5 separate regions of the Homo sapiens genome follow, and all the other regions are linked to region 4. Evidence: promoter capture Hi-C in 16 types of primary human blood cells and fetal thymus (Javierre and others, 2016). All regions are on one chromosome and are shown on one strand. The core of a region is centred on a gene start or on the middle of the fragment in contact, and the rest is flanking DNA. Distances in the headings are between cores, read along the strand shown.

Region 1 (3,282 bases), core at 467-2,966, 1.1 Mb before region 4:
GGTTTAGCTTACCTTCAGTGTACTGAATGCTGCACACAACCTGCTTTAAAAGGAGACCATCCCTGCAGGCAGGCTCAAGAAGGAACAGACCCCTTTCGGCACTGACTACACCAAGGGCATGCTGCTGTGGCCTGCACACACACACCTAGGAAAACGTGAATATAAACAGCATTTATGCTGGCCATTTTATCTCAAGACCAAAATGAAGCCAAGTCTGCTAAGAACAAATCAACCACCCAATATTACTACTCATTTCATAACAGATGCTTTTGTCTTTATGTGAACTGCAACCATATACATTAGCACTGTAATTTTGTGCAGTCTTGGCAATTTAAAACAGTCTACAGTGAAATTTCACGTAAGACACAAAACAGATTAACTAACATCTCTAAAAGAAATATCACCCTTGGTGTTAATTCAAATATATCATGCTTCCTCAAATTTGCTGGAGAAATATTTATAAGTTTATATACATTAATAAACTGCTGTGAAATTTCTTCAGTCTTTGTATTTACTCAAACCCTTGGAGTTTCTTCATCTTGTTTAAATTTTTTCCTGGATGAAGGCGTGCTGTAGGGCCTGGTTGATGCTAATTCGTTTAGCTGGGTCCAACATCAGAATCTGGTCCAACAAGTCCTTTAGCTGGTGTACTTTCTTACGTTGGTCTTCAGGAAGTCTCTGGCACCCAATCAAGTCAGCCAACAGGTCCTTAGTTGGATTAATGGTGCTCATAACAGTAACTTTCTCCTAAAAATAATTTTTAAAATGCGTATCTCTAAATAAGTTACTAAGCATATACAACTTAAATCAGATTGTTTTGGGGTCTATCAAAAATATTAAAAACATGCATATACATACAAAATATATACACACAGTGCACATTTTGGGCAATGACAGACTGCATATATGACAGTGGTCCCTTAAGATTGGAATACCGTATTTTTGCTCTCCCTTTTCTATGTTTAGATACATACATACACTTACCACTTGCAAAAGTGCCTACAGTATTCAGTCCACCAACTTACAGTTCAGGCCTAGAAGCAAAAGGCCATACTACTTACCCTAGATGTGTGTGAGTGTATGCTGTGGTTATGTGACGCATGACTGTATCATCATCATCTATTCATTTAAAACTTTGCTGTGGTTTCCTCTATGCTGTACATCTTTTTAAAAGGTAACCAAAAAACTTAAATGAAAAAGTTGATGCCAACTCTGGGCTGGGCGCGGTGGCTCACACCTGTAATCCCAGCACTTTGGAAGCCCAAGGTAGGTGGATCACTTGAGCTCAGGAATTCGAGACCAGCCTGGGCAACACTGCAAAACCCATCTCTACTAAAAATACAAAAATTATCCAGGCGTGGTGGCACACAATTGTAATCCCAGCTACTCGGGAGGCTGAGGCATGAGAATTGCTTGAACCTGGGAGGCAGAGGTTGCTGTGAGCCAAGATCGTGCCATTGCACTTCACCCTGGGTGACAGGTGACAGAGCGAGACTCAGTCTCAAAAAAGAAAAAAAAAGTCAACTCCAAGTTAGCAATGAAAATTTACAATAAGATAAGCATGAGCTGTTTGCACTGTACTTTCCCTACCTTGAAGTGGTAAGTGACAGACATGTGAATAAGTTAATACCCTGAAGTATTATTAAGTGCTCTGACAAAGACAGGGACATATGCTATAATAATGGGACAAAAATAAGGAAATCATTACTTCAATCTGGGAGTTTTCAAAAGGCTCATACAGAATGTGTATTTCAGCTGAGGCTTGAAGATGATACATTTTTTAGGGGGTTGGGGGTGAGGCAGCACAGGAAATGACTAAGCTCAGGGAGGTCTGTTAGCAAAGGCACAAAGGTCTGAACCAGCACGCCTTCTGGCCAAATGTGGAAAGGTGGGGGTTCTGAATGTACTGAAGAGAGGTCTGAAAACTGAAGAAAGCAGTTGGATTTGTCATTCTGAGGAACTTAAATATTATTTCATAGGTAACAGGGAGCCAACAAAGGTTTTTAAGCAGGGATAGGAACATGACCAGATATGTTTTCAGAAACATCACTCTAGCAGCAATAAGAAAGCTGGATGGGAAGCCAGACCAAGAAAGTAATCCAAAGAAGATGTGACGAGGGCCTAAATATGACCTATAATAAAAATAAATTAATTATGCTAGAAAAACATTTTAAAATCCCTCCATCTTTTCCATGGTCTGATGTGTTTTATTTAGGAATTGGTCGACAGCAAAAAGGAAATACTTACTTTTGGGTTTTTGTTTTTTTTTTAATTCACCAGCTCGTATGATTTAGTACTCAGTTAACAATAAAATAACTATTGCATGCTGCATTTAAAACACTTACCCTCTCTGTTACTTTATCAACTTCTATGTACATGAAGTTGAGATTTTGATCAAAATGCTGATCTTTGAACACACCTTTTCGAATCATCTACAAAACAAAACAAAAACTTGGGTTTTGAACTATTATGAAACAGGCCTACTAACAATTTAATTAATATACAATAAGTCAAATAAGTATGTTATTTAGTCTCTGTAGGTTTGTTTGATCTCAGATTCCCTTGATCCCAGGAATTCATTAACATCTTTGCAAAAGCAAATACCAATGCTGTACCTAAAACTACTTAATAACATGAAATTATATTTGTCCAGGCAGTGACTTAAAACAATTATAACATCAAATTGTCCTTTCACTATTTAAAATTGGAGAGTCAACAAAGACTTTAAATTATTTCTTCCTAAAAATATCACAAAACTCAGGTTTTTTCTCCTTGGCAGTTAGGGAACCTAATGCCACTTTACTAATTATGTTCCAACAGCCCTGATACAGGTCAGACTTCATTAAAACTAATACCAACATAGCTCATTTTTATGTAACTTATTCTAAAAAAAGTCCAACCTAATAGAATTTGGACAATATGTACAAATCAGCCTGGTCAACATAGTGAAACTCCATCTCTACAAAAAAATTATTAAATAAATTAACTGGTTGTGGTGGCACATGCCTGTAGTCCCAGCTACATTGGAGACTGAGGCAGGAGAACTGCTTGAGCCCAGGGGTTCGGTTCAAGGCTGCAGTGAGCTATAACTGTACTCCAGTCTGGGACACAGAGCAAGATCCAGTCTCAAAACAACAACAACAACAAAACACAACTGAAAACCATACAGTTTTCTGACCTTTACGAAAAATGTGTAAATCTTTAGAAATTCAGCAAATAGGCTGAAATCTTAAAAAGCTAAGTTACAGCCGGGTGCGGTGGCTCATGCCTATAGCTACTCGG
Region 2 (3,212 bases), core at 672-3,171, 1.0 Mb before region 4:
GTGTTCTCTAAAGAACTGTTGTAGACACTATATTCAGGGACTCACTATGAGCACCAGGCATAGTTTGCTTTCATACCAAATGGTTATCTTCTTTGTTAAATACTTTCAAACTACTGAAAGTGAGACATATACAGACCAAATATTCCATTTACACCAAGTGCTCTGTGGGGAAGGGAAGGGAAATTAAAGATTATCTCTGTTACTCATACAGCAGAGGCCTAAATATGTATTTTTGAAATTATTAAGTCTAATATTATTTGAATACAGTATGTGAATAAACTATGGCTGACCCACTCCTGGAAATGAATCTGAAACATCCCTAAAATCAAATAAATGGACATAATATTACAGAACTTTTCAGATTAGTAGAAAATGTAACCACATAGCATGAGATCTGCACGGTACTGGCATAAACACTGTAATTGTGCCACACAATGAACTTGGTGAGAAACAGTAAGAGGTTAAAGCTAATTTAAAACTTCAGAATCCATTTGTTCTCTGCTAAGTCAAATTGTAAAAATAATACAGCAGTTTTGAAAAGCCCTTAATTAAAAATTCCGTTTCTCTGCCTAGCTGAGTAATGCAGATGATTGAGGAGCCCAAAACTGGATGCACAGCAATTAAGTGTCAGGTTGTCTGGTGGCAAAGATTTCTTCTATCGCTCAGTCACAAGTTGCTGGGAGACTATACCTCTTTCTAAGATGGCTGGAAACAGATCAGACAGTGCAGATGCAAAAAAAAACAAAAAACAAAACAAAAAAAAAAAACGGTCGCTATAGGAACATTGCCGTAAAATCCATTCTCTCTGTTAAGGTTCTTGTTTGAGTTTTCCTAACATAGACATGAACAGCAAAATACTGCTTTAAGTTAACCAATGGTTAACCTTTGCAGCATACACTCGTATTTTTTTTTTTTTCATTTTTCATTTGGCCGCATGGATTCTTAATGTTAGCTTAATTATAGACATAAAGTGGTTTGGCAGTAGCTAGCAATTCCCACTACTCCTTCCACTCGTCCTCCTAAAGAAGGGTTATAAACTCAGGCAAAAAAAAAAAAAAAAAAAAAATGCCAGGCCTCAAAACCAAAGACTCTATCTTACTTTGCCTCAAGTTTGCAAGTTGGTAAAAAAGCTGCCGGTAGGCACTCAAAACAAAACAAAACAATACTGGGTGACTGCTGGACTAAAGAGTACAAGGTGACGAGATCAAGTATCCCGCTAGCCACAGACTAGCTCTGGGATGGCCAGAGAGTGTGACCCCAGCACCTCCGCTCTCTGCTTTCAGGTCCTAAACTGACACCAGTAAAAGGACGACTGGGGGTACCGCATGAGGAAGAAAAGACTTAGGGCTTGGCCCGCCTGCTGCCACTGACCCTCGTGTCCCCAACACAGATGCCGCTAAGAGCTGCGGCCAGGGAGCTCAGATGGGTCCCCAAAAGAGGCATAGGAAAGCGCGACCTCACTGCCGCGGCAGCCGCCACGCGCACCGGACCTGTAGAGGCCGCTCGCGCCTACGCCTCCCGGGGCAACGACGCGCGGCAGGCCGCGGCCGCCTTCACCCCAGCAGCCACGGCCTCTGGGAGAAGGAAGCTCGAAGGCCGCCTGCTCCCCATGCCTCCCACCCCACAACGAATCGCGCCGGAAAAAGCAAAGTTTGACTCTCGCCGTTAGGCCCGAACTTTCCCGCCACCCCGTGCAGCTCCCACTCGGCAGTCCCCGGGCTCCAGCTTCTGGCCCACTCACAGAGACTACTTACTCTGGCTGCTCCCGTAGCGACTGGGTCTCCGCGGCGGCCATCTTGAACTTCCTGACTCCTCGGCGGCGGTGGCGGCGGCTCCCGGACGGTGGAGGGTAGGGGAAGTGGAGGAAGAAGGAAAAGAGCTGCCGCGCATGTGCCGACCGTGTAGGGAAGAGCTGGGTTCTGAGTCCGCGCTAAGAATCCGGATATAAAACCCCACGTCCCGGGACTAGCGCAGGGCGTAGTGTCGCAGCTTCCGGGAGCATGGTGGGCGGTGCTGCTAAGGATTGAGGTCGAGTGTCAAGCTTGAGCTCTTCAGTCAATGCTAGAAATGGACGTTTAGTTATTGAATCCCGCTAACGAGGGGAGCCAACAAGAGAGGGATGTCGGCATCGGGTGTGCGGTTCCAAGAACTGATTGGCTGTGGAGATTAGAAGTTAGGTGAAAATTCTCTTAAACTCGGGCAAACGAATTGATGATTTTTCCCCTGGTCGGTGTTAGAGACACAGTAAATGCTTAACCATCTCGCTAGACAGCTCAACTGAAGTGGCATTAACTTCCCGGGAAAGTGTGTAGAAAGGCATTTTTAAATACTGTAAACTCGAACGTAAATATCTTTTAATGTGGAACTGTTACTACATTTAACACTGAACATCTTTTCAACTTTTACATAGTTCAAGGGTGACACGATTCAGTTCGTTATTTCCGTAATTGGAACGTGTAATGTTTTTTGGCCCAAGTTGCGTTATGTGATTTTGTTTTCTTCTATAACGACTCTACAGTAATGGGGTAGAATGGAATATTGTGGGGAAAACATTTACTGGCTCTTGGAGAACTCTCAAAACCAATTAGGTTCTTTAATTCCTCTTTAAAAAAATATTTCTCGCCTGGCGCTGTGGCTCACCCCTGTAATCCCAGCACCTTGGGAGGCCGAGGCGGGCGGATCACCTGAGGCCAGGATTTGGAGACCAGCCTGGCCAACATGGTGAAACCCCGTCTCTATTAAAAATACAAAAAATTAGCTGGGCGTGGTGGCGCTCGCCTATAATCCCAGCTACTCCGGAGGCTGAGGCAGGAGAATCGCTTGAACCCGAGAGGCGGAGTTTGCACTGAGATCACGCCACTGCACTCCAGCCTGGGCGACAGAGCAAGATTCCATCTCAAAAAAAAAAAAAAAATTATCCATACTTTGGAACCTGGAAGCAGCGTGACGATCACTTTCATTCTTGTAATCATCTGAGTTTGCCTTTGTCCTAGAAAATTGAGTTCGGAATCTCCAGACTCCATACATATCTCTTGATTTCCAGGGGAGAAGGGTTTTAAATGTTCTTACAAAATGTCTCTTGTTGCCTGAATTCCAAACGTTTTGAAATGTTAGGGCCGGGCGCGGTGGCTCACGCCTGCAATCCTCTAGCACTTTGGGAGGCCGAGGCGGGCGGATTGCCTGAACTCAAGAGTTCGAGTCCAGCCTGGCCA
Region 3 (3,014 bases), core at 156-2,655, 1.2 Mb before region 4:
CAATACAAAGCCTAGCTAGGAAGAAGAAAAGAGGATTAATTTTGTAAAGGAGACATAATAATGCCACAGGTTTAATTTATCTCAAGCAATGTCATCCAGCTAAAGCAGGAAACAATTATGATACAGAACGTTGAACGTGGACTAATCATTTTAATGACTAATGGAAAAAGCTATAATAGATTTTTCACCCAGAAATTTATAGAGTTAAGTAACACCACAGTTGCCTTCGTACCACTCTCCCCAGTTCATTTCGGCACAGGAACTTGGCAACAGTCAAAGTCCTCTGCCTTTAGCTACCACTCACTGAAAAAGCAACATTTCAAACCACAAAAACACTCATGTTAACACCTTCTGACAACTTAATGAAAAGGTAGCAACTGACTCACAACTTATTATCAAATGTGGAAAAGCACGCTCTAGAAGGAAACTTTCAACAGCTCATCCATCATCCAACAAACCTTCACAGAGTACAGTATTTTCTGTCAAGCAGTGTGTCCAGAAATGAGAAAGGGGTTGAATACAGGGTAGAATTCTTCCCAGGATATGCCCCTTGTAATAAAATAGATTACTAATCAGATATAAAACACAGTGACATAGGGGCCAGAAGAAAGAAACGCCCAGGAGACTGTAGGAACTCAGGACAGGACTAACCAGTGGGTGGGTCAGAGGAGATTCCTGGATATGCCAATGCCTGGAATGAGAGAACCTGGAAACTCAGAGAAACTGAGCATCCCAAGTTCACCTGAAATGGGAAGTTAACATGTGGGGCTGGAAAGAGGTGCCTGAGAAGGTAGGCAAGGGCAAATCTTGTGGGCCTTATTTGCCAGTGCTAAGCAGCTTGGGTTTGTTTAACAGGCAAAGGGGACTCACTAAGAGATTTTCAGCCAAGGGGAGAGATCGGGGAGAATCGTGTGGAGTGTAAGATTTAAAATTTAGGGAGACCAGCCTGGAAGCAGGGAGAGAATGGATTGCAGAGGTAACTGAATTAGCAAAACTGGGAAGTGGCTGCTACAGGAATCCAGGTAACAGTAATCTCAAAATCAATGAGAGCATGAATTAAGACGATGCAGAGGGATGTGAGATGAGGGGGAAAATTAAAAAAATATATTTAGGAGACAGAATCACTAGTATTTGATGAATGATAGATGTGAGGTGTCAGTGAGGTAAGGGAATCAAAGACTCTTCCAGGTTTCTAGCTTGCACTGTTAATTGGGACAGTGTATCAGAATTGTTCCTCAAGACTGAATGTGACAGACTCTGTACATGCTGTAACAACAGTATCTGATGATGTAAATATTGGAAATAAAAATTATCATGACTGACAGAGTCATCATGTAACATTCTACTCTGATATAATCTATTCTATGATCTTAAAAAAGAAACATTCACACTACCACTGAGCACAACACTGTGAAGTCGATATGCTGACCCCAAAGATTCATTATAGCCGGAGACAACACTTCCTGTGCACCTGCTAAGAGAGTCTGAGATTCTCTCAACCCAAAGAACATCAACGGCCCTCCCAGGCAGCATCAGTCCCCTGCAATCAATAAGACAGGATCTAACCAGACTGGAGGACCCCCTCCCCAAGATTTTCATAAGCTCCAGGGGAAGCTGGTTATATAACAGGGTGAAGATTAGAGCTTTAGAGAGGTCTTGACTGAGTTTCTGCCTTTCCTACTCTTATCCAGAACCATTACACCCTGAAGATATATCTGGAGTCCAGGATTTCACTGAGAACTGGATAGCTGGGCATGCCAATTGTATCTTCAATGGCTCTCTGCTTGCTCTCAGCACGGAATCCAAACTCCTTAGCACAGATACAATGATCTTCAAGCTCAGGTGGAGAATCTACCAAAATCACAATGGTTCCCTTTTGCTGCAACTGGCCCTCCCACCCACAGGGCCATGGCAGCCATGTTTACAAGGCATGGTCTGGACACCTCTTAACAGTTTAGTAAACCAAATACGGACCCAAGATGACCCTCTTTAGGATCTAGGAATCTAAATGTCTGTCTCTTTAACCAGGAATGTCTGTCTCTTTAACCATCTCCTTTCTCTCAAATGCTGGATATAATGGGGCTTTAGTAAATGACAGCTGGTAGATATGCAAATGATTTCTCCAATAGGAAAAACATTCCTCCCGAGGTTATGGTTTTATTGCTCTATGGGATATTAACCAGTTTTGTTTCTAACTTTGCAATCTATTCCAGCATTCTTTTTTTAACATTGACTATATTAAACTAGTCTTTTAACTTCTTCTTTAGCACCCTGTTGGTTCCCTAATTAATGAGCTAAGTAAATCTTTGACACATGCTCTTTCTATATTTTTAAAATTATAGTTTGAAAAAGATAAGCTAATTTCCCACACCCCACTCTTTTCTGTGGTAGGTATAAGCCTGAGAGTAGTTTGCTTGCATTGCAAAAGGTTTCACTATCAAAATATGCTTACCAGTATGAGATTTAAAAAATATTTCCATGACAGCTGTTTCATCTTCTGGAAATGAATGAGTCTTGTATTATCTGCAATATCTGATTACTGCATTTCCATTACCTCTGAGGTTATCTAACAGCCTTGGAGAGAGTCAAGGTCTCTGAGAGAGGCAGCTCAGCCTACCAACTACCACTTTGTAATATATGGAGAGGCCAGGTGTGGTGGCTCACACCTGTAATCCCAACACTGGGAGGCCGAAGCGGGTGGATCACCTGAAATCAGGAGTTTGAGACCAGTCTGACCAACAAGGTGAAACCCCATCTCTACTAAATACAAAAAATTAGCCGGGCCTGGTGGCGCATGCTTGTAATCCCAGCTACTCGGGAGCCCGAGACAGGAGAATCACTTGAACCCAGGAGGTGGAGGTTGCAGTGAGCCGAGATTGTGCCAGTGCACTCCAGCCTACGCAACAAGACGGAAACTCCATCTCAAAAAAAAAAAAATCTCTTTGGGATAAGCCCAAATTGTTCTATTTGACTTTTGGTGTTGCCCCATCTACACTATTACCCAGATCTACCTG
Region 4 (3,337 bases), core at 719-3,218:
CTGAAGAGCCTCTGGCTTTATCATCATCCTGTTCTCATGCTAAACAACATGTCGCCATGACAACGACTGGAAGAGACCAAGAAGGGACAGAAAAAAAGGGGTTTCTTGATTCCGGGAAAAATCTCCGTTCTTTCCCAAGGAAAGCACGAATATTCCCCCCCGTGCTCTTAATGCCCAGCCCCTTCATTAAAGACACCCTACCTCTGAAACTTCCCAGCTCTCACAAGCTAAGTTGATTTCAGATCTTCCAATTCCATAGCCATTGAATACAGCCTGCACTGCTTGACACACTCCCTTTCGGTTTCGTGCATTGGCCTCACCACGCAACAGGAAACAACCCTTTTTGGGATAACCGGGACTCCCGGTAACATTTCCATATATACATATCTTAATGTATGCAAGGGCGTCTGGGGGAGAAAGAAGCAGCACATTTCATTCTTTGCTTTCTATAATACTGGATTGCTTGAGTTTGTGACACATGTTAACATTTGCAACATTTTTAAACTAAATTGTATGTATTATAGAACAGTCCTCTGCGCTGAGCTTGGACTTAAAGTGGAAAGGCTTACATTTGCAGAATTAAAAAAAGCATCGAAACATTCTGTGGCAGGAAGTCCTGCGAGCCTCCTCGCCCCAGCCCGGTTTCCCGCGGGCCCCAGCCTCATCCCCCAAGGCCCCACCCTGAGAGCCCCCAGGTCCCAGCCGCGTCCTCCTGGACCCCTCCCAGGCGTGGCGAGCCGGGTCGCGGGAGCGCTCCGCCACCAGGGGACAGTGCGGCGCCGACCGTGGGCTGCTGGCTCGGCCGAGGGCACCCAGGCGCCCTCCGCTGCAGCGGGCTGGTTGCAGAGGGGCGGGCTCTCGCCAGGCAGCAGGCGCTCCGGGCGCAGCTGGGAGGAAGGAACGCCCCCGGGAGTGGGCGGCGGCCGAGGGACCCTGCAACCGTCCTCCCTGGAGGAGGCCCCCGCAGCTCCCGCAGCCCCCCTCATCCCGGACGGGCCGGGGATTGGGACTGGCCTGGGGTCTCCTACTCTCCTACTCCGCGCAGGAAGTAGCCCCTTGGCAGGACCGGCGGTGCCTGCTGCTTTCAGGAGCCCCGAGCCGCTTTTGTCTGGGTGCAGCTCAGCTCACATCCCCGATGCAAGTCTTTCCCGGCTCGTCTCCCCTTCTTCCCGGAGTCCATGCCTTGCTGTCGGTGACTCATCCCACACTGTGCCCTGCGACTCACCCTGTCGCTTTCTCTGTTCATCCGGGAGCGCGGCGCCATCTCCCTCCAGCCCCGCCTCCCCTACAGTGCTCCGTGCTGAGGTCGCACGTTCTCTCCTCCCTCCAGCTCCCTGGCTCTTGGCCCTTCCCAGGCCACCAGGCGACAGCAGCCTCCGCCTTCATTTCCCTTGGTCATTTCAGGCGCATGCTTGGAGGATTTCAGGATCTGACTCAGCTTCCCCGCCATGCATCCCTCCACCAGCATCCAGTCACACCTCTGCAGCCTTCAGTGTCCTGGAAAGGACTGACCAATCTGACCCATTAGAACCTACCCAGACCAATTTGAAGGCCACTGCCCCTCAACCGTGGCCACCCACTCCTGCCCCACCTGGAGCCCCAAACTGCTCAGTTCCTTCTCTAAAACTCTGCCCTCTTTTGTTTGTTGTGAATAACTGTCTTCCCTGGTTCTTTCCACACCTCTCTGGCCTCTCCTTGTCTTTTTCTGGTTCTTTTTTTCTCTATTCTCCCTTATGCACTGGCCTTGCTGGAGGTCCCTGCTCTCCCTGCAAAACCTCACCACACCCTTGACTTCAGCTATATCCATTTCACCTCACGTTGACATCTGGTGCCTAGACCTCTCTCCCGAGCCTTCCACACCATGCCAAAAATGAAATTCATTTTCTCCTCTAAATTTGCTCACCTTCTTGTTTTCCCAATCTTATTTATTGTCACAGCCATTCCCCTGCTGGTCCAAGTCAGTAGTCTGAGAGTCATGCTAGACTCCTCCTTCCTTATCTACCCATCCACCAATCCCCAAGCCCTGTCTATCCTCCTTTTTTTTTTTTTTTTTTTCCAGTCAGAGTCTTGCTGTGTTGCCCAGGCTAGAGTGCAATGGCACGATCTCGGCTCACTGCAATCTTTGCCTCCCGGGTTCAAGTGATTCTCCTGCCTCAGCCTCCTGAGTAGCTGGGATTACAGGCGCATGTCACCACGCCCAGCTAATTTTTGTATTTTTAGCAGAGATGAGGTTTTGCCATGTTGGCCAGGCTGGTCTTGAACTGCTGACCTCGTGATCCGCCTGCCTCTGCCTCCCAAAGTGCTGGGATTACTGGCATGAGCCACTGTGCCTGGTCATCTATCCTCCTTTTTAAATAGCTCTGCCATGTGTGCCTGTCTCCCCTGACAGCTCACCCTCATCCTATTTGTCCACATTGCTGCAGAGTAGTCTCTTCCATACACCAGGAGTTCCCAACCCCCGGGCCACAGACCTGACTGGTCTGTAGCCTGTTAGGAACCAGGACACACAGCAAGAGGTGAGCCACCAGTGGGTGAGCTAGTGAAGCTTTATCTGTATGTGCAGCTGCTCCCCATTGCTTGCATTACCACCAGAGCTCTGCCTCCTATCAGATCAGGCAGCATTAGATTCTTATAGGAGCACAAACCCTACTGTGAACTGCACACATAAGGGATCTAGGATGTGCGCTCCTTATGAGAATCTAATGCCTGATAATCTGCCGTTGTCTTCATCACCCCCACATGGGGCCAGATAGTTGCAGGAAAACAAGCTCAGGGCTCCCACTGAAAATAAAGTGCACAAGAAGTGTCATGTGCTTGAATCATCCCGAAACCATCCTCTGCTGTCCAAGGAAAAATAGTTTTCCACAAAACCCCTCCCTGGTGCCAAAAAGGTTGGGATGGTTGCCATACATAACTCTGATGATGAGACCACGAAGCTCAGAATCCTCCAGAGGCTCTCCACTGCCTGTAAGATGAAATAAAATTTATGGGTGTGACTTATCCATAAGGGCCCAGTCTAAACTGCCTCATATTTAATTATATAGTAAGCTATTTGTTTCCTCAAACGTATATATTTTGGCCCATTTCCCAGTCTCCTAGGTTGGAATATGCTCTGTGTGTCACCTGGCCAGCTCATGCTCTTTCTCATTCTCAGCTCAAGTGTTAGGGACTCTATGACACCTTTCTTGATTCTCCCAGTCAGACATATTGTTGCTACTTTTTCTTAACACTTATCCTTTTATCCTTGGCACCACTAAAGCACATATCACATCAGATTTCACTTGTTTGCACATCTGTCTGGCATCTTGAGCCCAGGGACCGTGTCGCCTGTCTTCAT
Region 5 (3,272 bases), core at 640-3,139, 1.1 Mb before region 4:
CTGGGGGCTGGGTGCAGTGGTACACACATATAATCTCAGCACTTTGGGAGGCCAAGGCAGGCAGGGAGCTCGGGAGTTTGAGACCAGCCTGGGCAACATGGCAAAACCCTGTCTCCACAAAACATACAAAAAAATTAGCTGGGTGTGGTGGTGCGTGCCTATAGTCCCAGCTACCGGGAGGATTCCTTGAGCCCAGGAGGTTGAGGCTGCAGTGAGTCGTGATCACACTGCACTCCAGCCTGGGTAACAGAGCAAGATCCTACCTCAAGAAAGAAAAGAAAAGAGGAGAAGGGAGAGGGGAGAGGAGAGAGAGAAAAGAGAAAGATCGGAGGGGAAGGGAGGGGTGGGGTGGGGAGGGGAGGAAAACCCTCAGGCAAGGAGAATGTCAAGAGAGATGATAGCAGAGATGAGAATAAAATCTTAGAATGTGCAAATTGGAGTAAAGAATAGTAACAGATCAAATTGAGCTGAATATTGGTCCAACATGAACACACAAGGTAAATCAGAAACAGTCAGAACATGTCACAACACCCCCAGAAAGCCTCAGGAATTGGAGACTCCCTATCCTCTGCAAGATGGTGTGAGGTAAGAGCTGAGGACAGAATTGGTTGAAAGCCTTTATAAACAGCCAGACTCGGTACAGTCCCCTCCCCAACTCAGTGGAAAATGTCAACCACTCCCTTCACATTCTAGCAGAACACTTAAGATTTGCTTTCTAGAGAAGGGTTGGTCACTCCAGATGCTGAGAGGCACATACCAAAGATAGACAGATTATAAGGAAGTTTACATTATGAAGGAAGAGAACTCTACTGGTAGCCAGGTCTATTTCCCAGGAGGAAATGAAAGGATTCCGGAAAACTCATAGCCCAAGAAAATACATCTACAGTCACTAATATCCAAAAATATCTAATTACTCTGAAGTGATAACCACTAGCTGACAAGTCCTACACTGTCACAATAGAAGAAAAATCCCATTCAGCTTTCTCAGTACCTAAATATTAACTCAGAATAGGCAGCAATGAAGGATCCAGCTGTGTGAGAAAAGTCTTCAAATGAAAAGTAAACATGCAGCAAAAGGAATCTGGGAAGAAACACAATATAGCAAAGAAAACTATAAAGAACAAAAATCTCACACAATAACCTCGCTATTGTCTGAGAGACAGAAAATACTATTTCCAGAAAACATGAATAAAATGTTAATACGTGGAACAATATAGAAGGTCCAATTGGAAAAAACAGAAAGAAAGAAAGAAAGAAAAAAAAAAGCACAAAAATTTCCCAGAAGGCCATAAACTCCCTGCTTTAAAGGGCCTATCTAGTAATTAGCAAAATAAATGGGGATAAAGATCTACATACCGAGGCACATAATAAATTTCAGAACACAAGACATTTTTTATAAAAAGGGAAGAGAGAAAAAAGCAAGTCTTGAGATCAGCTTGGAGCAAGAAGACTAGCAGTGTCAGAAGGGAGGTCCTCTCTTCCCTCCTCTCCCAACTATTTGCTCAGCAATGAATACATACAGGATCACAATGATTATACTGACTCTAGAAGAACAAAAAAGTGTGATGAAATTAGGCAAAAGCGAAACATGAGTAAGCGGTAGTATTAAAAACCCTCATTGTGGCTGGGTGCAGTGGGCCAAGACGAGCGGATCATTTGGGGTCAGGAGTTCGAGACCAGCCTGACCAACATAGTGAAACTCCATCTCTATTTAGAAAAATACAAAAAAAAAAAAGCTGGGCATGGTGGCATGGGCACCTCTAGTCCCAGCTACTTGAGAGGCTGAGGCAGAATTGCTTGAACTCAGGAGGTGGAGGTTGCAGTGAGATCGCGCCATTGCACTCCAGCGTGGGCAACAGAGTGAGACTGTCAAAAAATAAAATAAAATAAAATAAAATAAAACCCCTCATTGACCAGAGTGCACTCAGACCATGCATTTCCATTTCTAGGAATACAGCATACAAAAATTCTGAGAGATATGTAAAGATGGCTATAATATAAGCCTTTGTTTCTTAAAAATTATATTCATTTATTACTTCAATTAAAAATGTTAAAAGATTGGCAAACAAATACCCATTTATGTTTTATATTAAAATATTTCATGTATGTATGAATTTTAAAAAATGATTCCCTGCTTTATAAACCACCTTTTTAACCTATTACTGACTACATATGCTTCAGATAAAATGGTTTCTATGGCAAATTAAATAGGCCTTTGCCTAAGTCTACAGTAACTATCAATATGCAAAATTAATATAAAATGTAAGAAACTGGGCTATATATTTACTACTACATGATCTACCTTGCTGGTTAAAAAAAAAAAAAAATCCCTAAGTCTGGCTCATTTAGTATTGATTGATAAAAGAGAGAAAAAAGTCCTATTTTTAAAAGACTAATTTTATTGCATCCTAAATGAGCAATGATTTGTTTAAAATTCAAAGGAAACGATATAAAAGAAAACCCATGTGTAGAGATTGCTGGTAAAAGGAAACTATGGGAACACAACTACGATTTTTCAGAGAAAACTGGTCTAAAAGAAAACCTACCAAGTGAGCTCACTGGTGGTTCAAAAACATTCAGAGTTTAATGAATCACAAGGATGAAATGTCTTTACCTTCTCCGAGGAGATCTGCTTCTTCTTCTTGGAGACCTGCTACGTCTGAGTGGGGAACGAGACCTCCTTCTAATGGGAGATCTACTTCTTCTTCGGGTTGGAGACCATCTATTGATGGGGCTGGCATCTTTTGATCTTTCACGTCTACTGAGGATATCATCTCGAGGTCGTGTTCTTAAGGGGATCAAATGCAAGTTAAAAGAAATATAAATCAAAGTAAATGATTTTTTTCTATATGCAAAGAACATCTGTAAGAAAAGGCACATTAGCCTAAAGAAAGTGAACTTTGATTAATGTGTTTTGTAACAAAACTTACTCAGGTGACTACAGTGATATTTTGGTGTTATTGCAGGCAAACAATGAAAGGTCTTATTTCCTCTGGTCCCACAGTTTGAAAAATTACTAAAGGTTATTCATACCGGTAAAGTCACTGATTCTAATTTCAAATAAACCAACTCAAATAAAACCTCCCCAAGTGAGTATAATACTCCATTTACTCAAATATTCCATTTTCATTGACGACTTTTTCTTTCTACATCCTGACATTTCTCCAATTAAGGATCTTTTTTTTTTTTTTTTTTTTTTGAGACAGGGTCTAACTCTGTCACCCAGGCTGGAGTGCAGTGGCGCAAACACGGGTCACTGCAGCCTTGACCTC

What was found. The method cuts DNA at HindIII sites, captures the fragments that hold promoters and counts their contacts. A CHiCAGO score of 5 or more calls a contact.
Region 1: a contact is called between a fragment that was not itself captured here and the fragment with the promoter of LINC01011 in region 4, in 1 of 17 cell types (naive CD8 T cells). The highest score is 5.7, in naive CD8 T cells.
Region 2: the fragment with the promoter of PRP4K here is called in contact with the fragment with the promoter of LINC01011 in region 4 in 6 of 17 cell types (naive CD8 T cells, non-activated CD4 T cells, total CD8 T cells and 3 more); the score reaches 8.6 in naive CD8 T cells.
Region 3: a contact is called between a fragment that was not itself captured here and the fragment with the promoter of LINC01011 in region 4, in 2 of 17 cell types (non-activated CD4 T cells and fetal thymus). The highest score is 8.3, in non-activated CD4 T cells.
Region 5: a fragment that was not itself captured here is called in contact with the fragment with the promoter of LINC01011 in region 4 in 1 of 17 cell types (total CD8 T cells); the score reaches 5.4 in total CD8 T cells.

The regions. Positions count from the first base shown.
Region 1 is chr6:4,057,878-4,061,159 of GRCh38, reverse strand. PRP4K (pre-mRNA processing factor kinase PRP4K) reads right to left here. Exons shown (of 15, transcript NM_003913.5): 14 at 2,346-2,432; 15 at 1-747. The coding sequence ends at 544. Among named protein-coding and RNA genes, the nearest start is that of FAM217A, 20 kb to the left of the region's middle. RefSeq lists an enhancer at 1,671-1,965. The HindIII fragment of the contact is 4,589 bases long and covers 1-3,282 here.
Region 2 is chr6:4,020,009-4,023,220 of GRCh38, reverse strand. It overlaps PRP4K (pre-mRNA processing factor kinase PRP4K), which reads right to left and starts at 1,921. Exons shown (of 15, transcript NM_003913.5): 1 at 1,755-1,921. The coding sequence starts at 1,795. LOC124901245 (a long non-coding RNA gene) reads left to right here and starts at 2,054. Exons shown (of 2, transcript XR_007059415.1): 1 at 2,054-3,212. RefSeq lists enhancers at 679-738, 1,781-2,090. The HindIII fragment of the contact is 11,601 bases long and covers 1-2,043 here.
Region 3 is chr6:4,136,841-4,139,854 of GRCh38, reverse strand. It overlaps ECI2-DT (ECI2 divergent transcript), which reads right to left. Exons shown (of 4, transcript NR_103764.1): 2 at 2,453-2,494. Among named protein-coding and RNA genes, the nearest start is that of ECI2-DT, 2.3 kb to the right of the region's middle. The HindIII fragment of the contact is 5,893 bases long and covers 1-3,014 here.
Region 4 is chr6:2,986,598-2,989,934 of GRCh38, reverse strand. LINC01011 (long intergenic non-protein coding RNA 1011) reads right to left here and starts at 1,968. Exons shown (of 3, transcript NR_026856.1): 1 at 1,904-1,968; 2 at 202-407; 3 at 1-66. NQO2-AS1 (NQO2 antisense RNA 1) reads left to right here. Exons shown (of 2, transcript NR_186367.1): 2 at 1-599. RefSeq lists enhancers at 1-33, 1-406, 407-1,216, 1,217-2,026 and a silencer at 604-1,023. The HindIII fragment of the contact is 2,996 bases long and covers 1-2,547 here.
Region 5 is chr6:4,036,913-4,040,184 of GRCh38, reverse strand. It overlaps PRP4K (pre-mRNA processing factor kinase PRP4K), which reads right to left. Exons shown (of 15, transcript NM_003913.5): 3 at 2,615-2,788. Among named protein-coding and RNA genes, the nearest start is that of PRP4K, 17 kb to the right of the region's middle. The HindIII fragment of the contact is 9,945 bases long and covers 1-3,272 here.